Regions from separate parts of the Homo sapiens genome. Here region 1 is linked to region 2. Evidence: promoter capture Hi-C in 16 types of primary human blood cells and fetal thymus (Javierre and others, 2016). All regions are on one chromosome and are shown on one strand. Each heading gives the region's core, a stretch centred on a gene start or on the middle of the fragment in contact. The rest is flanking DNA. Distances are from core to core; before and after follow the strand shown. Region 1 overlaps GGPS1 (geranylgeranyl diphosphate synthase 1). Region 2 holds the start of TOMM20 (translocase of outer mitochondrial membrane 20).

What was found. The method cuts DNA at HindIII sites, captures the fragments that hold promoters and counts their contacts. A CHiCAGO score of 5 or more calls a contact.
Region 1: a contact is called between a fragment that was not itself captured here and the fragment with the promoter of TOMM20 in region 2, in 1 of 17 cell types (naive CD4 T cells). The highest score is 5.3, in naive CD4 T cells.

What each region holds. Positions count from the first base shown.
Region 1 is chr1:235,334,822-235,339,747 of GRCh38, forward strand. It overlaps GGPS1 (geranylgeranyl diphosphate synthase 1), which reads left to right. Exons shown (of 4, transcript NM_004837.4): 2 at 421-513. The coding sequence starts at 444. Among named protein-coding and RNA genes, the nearest start is that of GGPS1, 8.7 kb to the left of the region's middle. The HindIII fragment of the contact is 7,848 bases long and covers 1-4,926 here.
Region 2 is chr1:235,126,897-235,131,845 of GRCh38, forward strand. TOMM20 (translocase of outer mitochondrial membrane 20) reads right to left here and starts at 1,941. Exons shown (of 5, transcript NM_014765.3): 1 at 1,699-1,941. The coding sequence starts at 1,819. It overlaps SNORA14B (small nucleolar RNA, H/ACA box 14B), which reads right to left and starts at 1,041; the gene lies at 907-1,041. LOC105379283 (a long non-coding RNA gene) reads right to left here and starts at 1,305. Exons shown (of 2, transcript XR_949295.4): 1 at 733-1,305; 2 at 23-73. RBM34 (RNA binding motif protein 34) reads right to left here. Exons shown (of 11, transcript NM_015014.4): 11 at 4,287-4,949. The coding sequence ends at 4,817. RefSeq lists enhancers at 1,669-1,888, 2,119-2,218. The HindIII fragment of the contact is 4,902 bases long and covers 7-4,908 here.

The sequences.
Region 1 (4,926 bases), core at 2,212-4,711, 210 kb after region 2:
CTGCCTCCCGGGTTCAAGCAGTTCTCCTGCCTCAGCCTCCCAAGTAGCCAGAACTACAGGCACACACCACCATGCTCGGCTAATCTTTGTAGTTTTAGTAGAGATGGTGTGAAGGCTGGTCTCGAACTCCTGACCTCATGATCTACCCACCTCAGCTAATTTTTCATATTTTTAGTAGAGACAAGGTTTTGCCATGTTGCCCAGGCTGGTCTCGAACTCCTGGGCTTAAGCTATCCGCCCGCCTCAGCCTCCCAAAGTGCTGGGATTACAGGCGTGAACTACCGTGCCCAGCAACAGAATCTTCTTTTTAAACCAGACTAGGTGTCTTTTCACAAACACCCTGCAATACAAATTCCTTTGCAGTTTGACACTGAAAGATGATTAGTTTCATGTGATCTTTATGTTTCTCCTTTTTGACAGATTAGCTTTGAAGTTTAAATCCAATGGAGAAGACTCAAGAAACAGTCCAAAGAATTCTTCTAGAACCCTATAAATACTTACTTCAGTTACCAGGTAATACTTCACTTACAGTCCATATAGGGTCATTTTCATGCAGTAGTGGTCGTTCAAATGTTAGCAAATAGAAAAGGTTAGACTTGCTAGCCGTTGAGATTTTCTATTTAAGGTGATGCGTATGAGAAAAATGATAAATAGAACATTATAATTTTTTCTTTATTAAAAGGTAATTTTTGCCAGGTGCAGTGATACATACCTGTTGTCCCACCTACTTGGGAGGCTGAGGCAGGAGGATGGCTTGAGCCCAGGAGTTTAAGGCTATAGTGCACAATGATCACACCTGTGAATAGCCACTACACTCCAGCTTGGGCAACATAGTGAGACCCCGTCTCTTAAAAAGAAACGTAATTTTTGAAGGCACCCTTTAAAACATATCCAATTATTTAACATATCTTGAAAAATAAAAATACTTAAAACATTTTGGTATCTCATTGGAGGTTGTACTCTTTACGGATATTACGCATTCAGATTCCCCACTGTTTAGATATTAGGGGAAGTTACGCAGATTTGTTTAACAGTAGAACACTTTATTTACCATACATGTTCAAGTTTACCTTCTATGTCTGTATTTTCCAGTATCTCACACATACACTGCATTTCATATACTACTGGTTCCTTTGAGAGCCAAATAATAATGTATCTAAAATCACAGTATTTGGAAATATAGCCCACTTTATTCCTGTATAAGGGTATGCCACCTTGGACATGGCTTCCTACCTCACGTGTACGTGTGTGTTTTTGTTTTATTTTGCTTCTTTAAAAACTTGTCTGGAGGCTGGGCGTGGTGGCTCACGCCTGTAATCCCAGCACTTTTTGAGGCCAAGGCGGGCGGATCATGAGGTCAAGAGGTTGAGACCAGCCTGGCCAACATGGTAAAACCCCGTCTCTACTAAAAACACAAAAGTTAGCTGGGCATGGTGGCGCATGCCTGTAGTCCCAGCTACTCGGGAGGCTGAGGCAGGAGAATCACCTGAACCTGGAAGGCAGAGGTTGCAGTGAGCTGAGATTGCATCACTGCACTCCAGCCTGGCAACAGAATGAGACTCCGACTCAAAAAAAAAGAAGAACTTGTCTGGAAATGATAATAAGCAAAAACTCATGAATATAATAAACAGGGGTTATTGTAATAAAAAATCATTTGTATTAGAATATTCTTTCTCATAGACATAATATAGGCCAGGTGTGGTGGCCCACACCTGTATTCCCAGCACTTTGGGAAGCCAAGGCAGGATTGCTTGAGACCAAAAGTTTGAGACCACCTTGGGCAACATAACAAGTCCCCCTCTCTGTTTTAAACATTTTTTAAAAAAGAAGAAATAATATAAAAGTTGGTAAATTATTTGACAAGCATAAAAACCTATTTAGCCATACTGTGACTAAACTCTAATGATGCTCTCAATTCAGTCTCAATAGACACTTTTAAATTTCCGTGCTAAAGTACACACCTTTCTTTATGAGCACTTCTCTGTGGTAATATGTGCATTTCTGTTCTTCATGAGCCTGGGAAGGATAAAAGCCAAAAGAATGCTTGCTCCTGTGCTACACCTTGGAAACCATAATTAGTGTCATTTTTATTTTGGCCGACCCTAATAGAGACTCGCCTGCTAATGTCAATGCATGAGAAGAATGAGGGAATGACAGAAATGGAGAATTCAAAGGGAAGGTTGCCCACTGTTTAAGAAAAAGCCAAGAGACTGCTTTTGAGTGACATTTATCCAGCAGTTAGTAACTTATTTCAGTATCTCCCAGTGAGAAACATGGCACAGTTTCACTTTCACTCTACCCAGCTCTTACTGCCAGACATCCTTTAGAACACGCTCACAAACACTAGCTGGAACTGGGCTGGCATTAATAGCAAGCCAGTTATCAGTGCTGACAAAAGTCTAACAAGCATCGCTTGAATGTCTCTTACTCTGCTACTTACAAAGCAAGGACTGCCTACAGTTACATTTTAACCATAATGCTTACTTATGCTGTGACCACCTTCTGTGACTTCCTTTTTTTTAATTCTCATTACTTGGAAATAATGTTTTAAGACATTAGATAACATATTTAAAATTATCACTAGGTACCTCACCTTTTTATTCAAGTACGTTCTTGATCCATGATGGAATACAACCTCAAAAGATACTACTAAAGAAATATGACATTGCACTATGCACATAACACACTTATTTTTTTACAGAGAGCTTCAGAGTTACTAAAGTAACTTAGAGGTGTGCCAGGTCATTTATACTGTTGTAATATTACTCTTGCTAATAAATAATAATAATGCTATCAGTATTTTCTGAAGTCAACCTGGCCAACATGGTGAAACCCTGTATCTACTAAAAATACAAATATTAGCCAAGTATGGTAGCGCATGCCTGTAGTCCCAGCTGAGGCACGGGAGTCACAGGAGCCTAGGAGGCAGAGGTTGCAGTGAGCCGAGATCACGCCACTGCACTCCAGCCTGGGCAACAGAGTGAGACACTGTCTCAAAAAAAAAAAAGGATTTTCTGAAATTAGTAAAGAAAATTATTTTTATTTTTAAATTTCTCATACTTGCTGTCATCTTATGTTTATGTTTGTTTATTTGCCTTAGTGTGGGGCCCTAGATGAGGTGAAGGGTGGGATTAGGGAGAGATGAAGCTGGCAGTGGAGGAAGAAGGGCTCCAAAAAGAGAGACAATAATGTTTAGATCTTAAAGAGGAAGCAGTAATCTTTTAATTTTGAGAGATCTCTGTGATTAGCCTCAGTACTAGAAATTATTTTGGAACTCAGCCAGGCGCGGTGGCTCACATCTGTACTCCCAGCACTTTGGGAGACCGAAGTGGGCAGATGGCTTAAGCCCAGGAGTTCAAGACCAGCCTGGGCAACATGGCAAAACCCTGTCTCTACTAAAAATACAAAAAATTAGCCAGGCATGTGATACGCCCTTGTAGTCCCAGCTTACCTGGGGGACTGAGGTGGGATGATTACCGGAGCCTGGGAGGTTGAGGCTGCAGTAAGCCAAGATCACACCACTGCACCCCAGCCTGGGTGATTAAGGGAGACCCCGTCTCAGAAAAAAAAAAGGGGGGGAAACTTAAAAGCATCAGGCTAAACACTAGCATGTCATCAGAGGGGAAAAAAATATTAAAACTGTAGTACCTCAAAAATAAGCCATATATTGTACTGTTTTCTATATAACATTCAAAAGTAAAATGAAAAATGAAATTTCACATTGAGACTCTGTTTTTCATCTTCAAAAAAATGTGTTTAAGTGATACAGGCCAAGTGCAGTGGCTGACTTATTATCCCAGCACTTTGGGAGGCCAAGTGGGACAGATTGCTTTTGAGCCCAGGGGTTTGAGACCAGCCTGGGCAACAGGGCGAAACCCTGCCTCTACAAAAAATAAATAAATAAAAATAAAATTAGCCAGGCATGGTGGCTTGTTCTTGTAGTCCCAGCTACTCAGGGGACTTGAGCCTAGGAGGTCAAGGCTGCAGTAGGCCGTGATTGTGCCACTGCACTCCAGCCTGGGTGACAGAGCGAGACCCTGTCTCAAAAATAATAATAATAGGCCGGGCGTGGTGGGTCACACCTGTAATCCCAGCACTTCGAGAGGCCAAAGCATGTGGACGACTTGAGGTCAGGAGTTCGAGACCAGCCTGGCCAACATGGGGAAACCCTGTCTCTATTAAAAGTACAAAAAATTGGCCGGGCGCGGTAGCTCACGCATGTAATCCCTACACTTTGGGAGGCTGAGGTGGGTGGATCACCTGAGGTCAGGAATTCAAGACCAGCCTGGCCAACATGATGAAACCGTCTCTACTAAAAATACAAAAAATTAGCTGGATTTAGTGGCGCACGACTGTAATCCCAGCTACTCAGGAGGCTGAGGCAGGAGAATCGCTTGAACCTAGGAGGTGGAGGTTGCAGTGAGCCAAGATCGTGACACTGTACCCCAGCCTGGGCAACAAGAGCAAAACTCGATCTCAGAAAAAAAATACAAAAAATTAGCTAGGCGTAGTGACGCACACCTGTAATCCCAGCTACTCGGGAGGCTGAGACAGGAGAATCCCTTGAACCCAGGAGGCGAAGGTTGTGGTGAGCCGAGCCAAGATCGTGCCATTGCTTTCCAGCCTAGGTGACAGAGCAAAACTTCATCTCCACAAACAAACAAACAAACAAAAAAACCCATAATCCCAGCATTTTGGGAGGCCAACACAGGTGAATTACCTGAGGTCAGGAGTTTGACACCAGCCTGGCCAACATAGTGAAACCCTGTCTCTACTAAAATTACAAAAATTAGCCAGGTGTGGTGGCAGGTGCCTGTAATCCCAGCTACTTGGGAGGCTGAGGCAGGAGAATCGCTTGAACCCAGGGGGCGGAGGTTGCAGTGAGCCGAGATCACACCATTGCACTCTAGCCTGGGTGACAAGAGC
Region 2 (4,949 bases), core at 691-3,190:
AACTAAAGCTTGAAGTTACTTGCCTAAAGTTACTGCTGCAGCTAAGTAATTCACTGTAATCATTAGGTTGCCGCTAAATCCAGAAAAAACAATTTTAGATTGAAAATGATGGAGAAGTTATTTTGAAATAACATTCCTCCATTTGTCTAAAATGATAGCTCTTGTTTCTGCAACAGGACTTCAGGGTTTCCAACGGAAGATAGGGTTAATCCATTCTTTATAACTCTGCATTTGTACCAAAGCCCCCAGCTGTCACCCATTTTGGCAACTACAGGACAATAACCCGAAGGCAGAATGACCACCAGCATTTATGGAGGAGCATTTCCTATGTCAGAAAACGTGGAAGGCAATTCAAACATCTCAACCTTCACAAGATCAACAAGAGGTAGGTGGCATTACCTGATTTTACAACTACAGAAATTAGGATTCAGAAACCCCAAATTATGCCGCTAACCTGGCCCTAGAAATTCAAGGTCTGAATGTAAAACAGTATTCTATTAGTCTGCCTAGTCATAAATCAAATTATGTCTATATCCCTTCCCTCCTAAAACATAAGAAAGCTGGAACTAGATGTCTGATTCTTAGTGCTAGTAAGATCAGCGCTGCAGTCACTGCTCACACAGGGCTACTGAACACTTGAAATGACTTAGTATAGCTGAATTAAACCGTAACCACTGTTACTTAAGTAAACAATAATCCCTTCTTTGTACCCCTTGGGCTTTAGTAACTTACGTATCAATTTTAATTCCAAAAACTAATTTGGCTGAACAACCAAGATAAGCCAAAAAATATTTCTTATTGCAACAAATTTGCTCTTCAATGATGCGAATGAAGATTCTCCGAAAATTCAAGGTGGATCACAACGGTTTTCATGACACGATTCCCCTCTGGTAGACCTCTCTTAAAAGATGTCGCAGGTATGAAATAAGACTGAGCCACGGGAGAAGCGCAGCCCTTTGGACTCCCCTGCAATTTCTATAGCATTCACTCATATCTTGGAAGCACTTAGAACGAAGCTACCAAGAGGGTTTAAGAATGCAGCAATGAGCCAGGCGGATCATCTGAGGTCAGGAGTTCGAGACTAGCCTGACCAACACGGTGAAACCCCGTCTCTACTAAACACAAAAAATCACCGGGCGTGGTGACGCCCGACTGTAATCCCAGCTACTGGGGAGACTGAGGCAGGAGAAGCGCTTGAACTCGGGAGGCGGAGGTTGCAGTGAGCCGAGATCGCGCCACTGCACTACAGCCTGGGCGACAGAGCGAGATTCCGTCTCAAAAAAAAGAATGCAACAATGATACTGCACTGAGCATGCGGATTTAGCCTCAGACTAAAATTTGCGACAAAAATGCACGACTTTTTAGTTAAGAGTAGAGGTTTAAAAAGATGAACGACAAAAAAAGAGACAACCTCCTCCCCAGGCCACACACACCCGAGATTGCAACAGAAATCAAGAGTGCATTTGCACGGCTAAAGTGTCTGGGGAAAACAAAACGGGAAAAATCCTTCCTCCAAAATGGAATTCCTACGGGGCACTAGAGCCCCCGGAGCGGCGCAGCCAGCGCCATCGCCTATTGAGGGCCGCACCACGCGGTCGCCCTGCGCGGCCCACAGGCTGGTGGGAGGCAATGACCCCTCCTGTGAAGGGCGGCGGCCGAAGGCAGCAAGCCTGGCCAGGGGAGAGAGGACCCACTCACGTTCTCGAAGCCTGTTCTTGAAGTTGGGGTCACTTCGTCTTTTGCGGTCGAAGTAGATGCAGTACCCAATGAAAAGGGCCCCGCATACACCGGCGGCGATGGCGCTGTTCCGACCCACCATCTTCTCTACAACGCTGAGCGTGGACGGTGGCGGCAGGGACCGCGAAGGAGCGGTGGGCCACGAACCCTCAGAGCGGTCGGCGCAGCTCACACCCGACGGCCGCGGGCCAGGAACACAGAAAGGCCGAGCACACGCCACTTCCGGTCCCAGTCAACTAAGGGCCTCGAGGTCGTCCGCGGCAGAGCCTGAGCAGAGGCCCAGAGCGCGGCTCCTGCGCCTGCGCAGTGGGCGAAGCCGGCGTTTCCCCTGCGCCGCTGGGTGTACGCACTGGAGTCGGGAATTTGCACGTGACCACGGACTTTTTTTCATATCCGCCGACCATGCTGTAACGAGGCGTACGCGTTACTGGCGTGCACGTACTCAGAAGACTAGCTGACAGCCTTGTTTGTGGCAGACAGAGATGCAGGGTCCCAGACTGCGAATGCTTCATCTTGTCTAACACAGGCAGCCTGTGACTTGTTTGAATTAAACTGTACTTTCTTTTCAGGTTGCCACAATCCATTGTGCGTAGTGGTTCCATTTCAAAAGAATGTTACAGGATAGCCTCATTTTATGATAACTGGAATAAAATTAAATGGAGTAATTTCTTGAAAAATATACACAATTGAAGAAAAAATAGAAAACGTGAATTGTTTTATAGCCACACGAAAACATACACATGATCAGGCCAGGCGCGGTGGCTCACGCCTGTAATCTCAACACTTTGGGAGGCCGAGGCAGGCGGATCACTTAAGGCCAGGAGTTTGAGACCAGCCTGGCCAACATAGTGAAACCCTGTCTCTACTAAAAATACAAAAATTAGCTGGCCATGGTGGCCGGGGCCTGTAATCCCAGCTACTCTGGAGGCTGAGGCGGGAGAATCGCTTGAACCAGGAGGCAGAGGTTGCAGTGAGCCAAGATCGAGCCACTGCACTCCAGCCTGAGTGACAGATCAGGAGTCCGTCTCAAAAAAACAAAATATATATATATATGATCTAACTTAAGATATTGACAAGGAAAATCGTGGGCAGAAAGCAGGCATTAAACAGACACTGTAAGTTGAGGGGTATCGAAGTCAAGCATCAGTGTCAAGAGACATTGGAACCAGAGCTACCTTACCTTGAATAGGGGCTGGGTAAAATGAGGCTGAGACCTATTGGGGCACATTCCCAGGAAGTTTGGCATTCTTGGTCACAGGATATTTACAGGGAAGGGAACAAGTTAATAATGTTTACCTAACAGACCCAGGAAATGTCCTGATGTCCTGATATCTTAAGAACAAAAGCATTCTTAGTTTAATTTTCCCTTTAAAGATAATATTGATCCTTGCAGAAGACAGTAGTTACACAGGATTAACAGTCCTTTGACAAAGACCAGGCAGTGTCTCACACCTGTAATCCCAGCACTTTGGGAGGCCCAGATGGGCGGATAGCTTGAGCCCAAGAGTTCAACACCAGCCTGGGCAACATGGTGAGACCCTGTCTCCACAAAAAAATTAAAAACTTAGCCAGGCGTGGTGGCACACACCTGTGGTCCCAACTACATGGGGAATGATGCGGAAGTATCCCTTAATCCCAGGAGGTTGAGGCTGCAGTTGAGTTATGATTGTACCACTGCAGTCCAAACTGGGTGACAGGGTAAGACCTCGTCTCAAAACAAACACACAAAAAATCCTTTGTCACAAGCTCTTGGAGTAGAGCTCATCTTCCTCATTTTTTTGCTGTTCAATACAAACAAGCCTTGTACCTAAGGTGGACATGTTCCTTCTCTTGCTTTAGGGTATGCACCATTCTACAAAGTAACCTTTCACTTTTTTTTTTTTTTTTTTTTTTTTTTGAGACAGTCTTGCTGTCACCCAGGCTGGAGTGCAGTGGCATGATCTTGGCTCACTATAACCTCCACCTCCTGGGTTCAAGCGATTCTCCTGCCTCAGCCTCCCCAGTAGCTCGGATTACAGGCATGTGCCACCACACCCAGCAAATTTTTGTATTTTTAGTAGAGATGGGGTTTCACCATGTTGGCCAGGCTAGTCTCAAACTCCTGACATCTGGTGATCCACCCACCTCGGCCTCCCGAAGTGCTGGGATTACAGGCATGAGCCACCGTGAGTGATCTTCTTTATTTTCTTAATAAACTTGTTTTCACTTTACTCTGTGGACTGGCCCCAAATTCTTTCTTAGGCAAGATCCAAGAACCCTTTGTTGGGGTCTGGATCTGGATCCTTTTCCAGTAACACGAGGTTGCATAATAAAGAATTTGGCTGGCCTTTGTCCCCAGTTCCTGGGAGTTCTAGCCCCTTGGAATTGATGAGTGATTCACTCCTGTAATCCTAGCACTTTGGGAGGCCAAGGTGGGAGGATCACTTGAGTCCAGCAGTTTGAGAGCAGCCTGGGCAACAAAGTGAGATACTGAAGCGACATCGTTTGGGGTAATACCCAAGGTTCATTGCTTCATGCCAAGGAAATCAAGAACTTGAGCACACACGGAGTAAGGTTAAGAGCAGAGGTTTAATAGGCAAAAGAGAAAGGAGGCTTGGGTGCAGTGACTCACGCCTGTAATCCCAGCACTTTGAGAGGCCAAGGCAGGTGGATCACCTGAGGTCAGGAGTTCGAGACCAGCCTGGCCAACATGGTGAAACCCCGTCTCTACTAAAAATACAAAAAATTAGCCAGGCGTGGTGGCAGGCGCCTGTAATCCCAGCTACTTGGGAGGCTGAGGCAGGAGAAGCGCTTGAACCCAGAAGGCAGAGGTTGCAGTGAGCCAAGATCACGCCACTGCACTCCAGCCTGGGAGACAACAGCCAAACTCCATCTCAAAAAACAAAACAAAAACAAAAAAACCTTCAAAGGTAGTATCACAATGTGAATAAACTGAGAATGTGGAAGTCTCCACATTTCACATACACCATCCATAAAGAAGTATAAAACTCAACACATGAATAGCAGACGATGCTATCAGCAGATAATAGCACTTTTATTAGCAGTACTCAGCAGGAAAAGAAAAAGCAGTTCCTGGTTGTTATTTCTGTTTTCTCTGTTTCTTAGGGCGTCCACTTTTCTTCTGTCCTTTCTTCTTCGTTTTAAGGAGAACAGCTTTTTCTCCAATAAATAAGCTTTTAGGATGTCCTTCTGCAGTTTTGGAAGTAAAATTA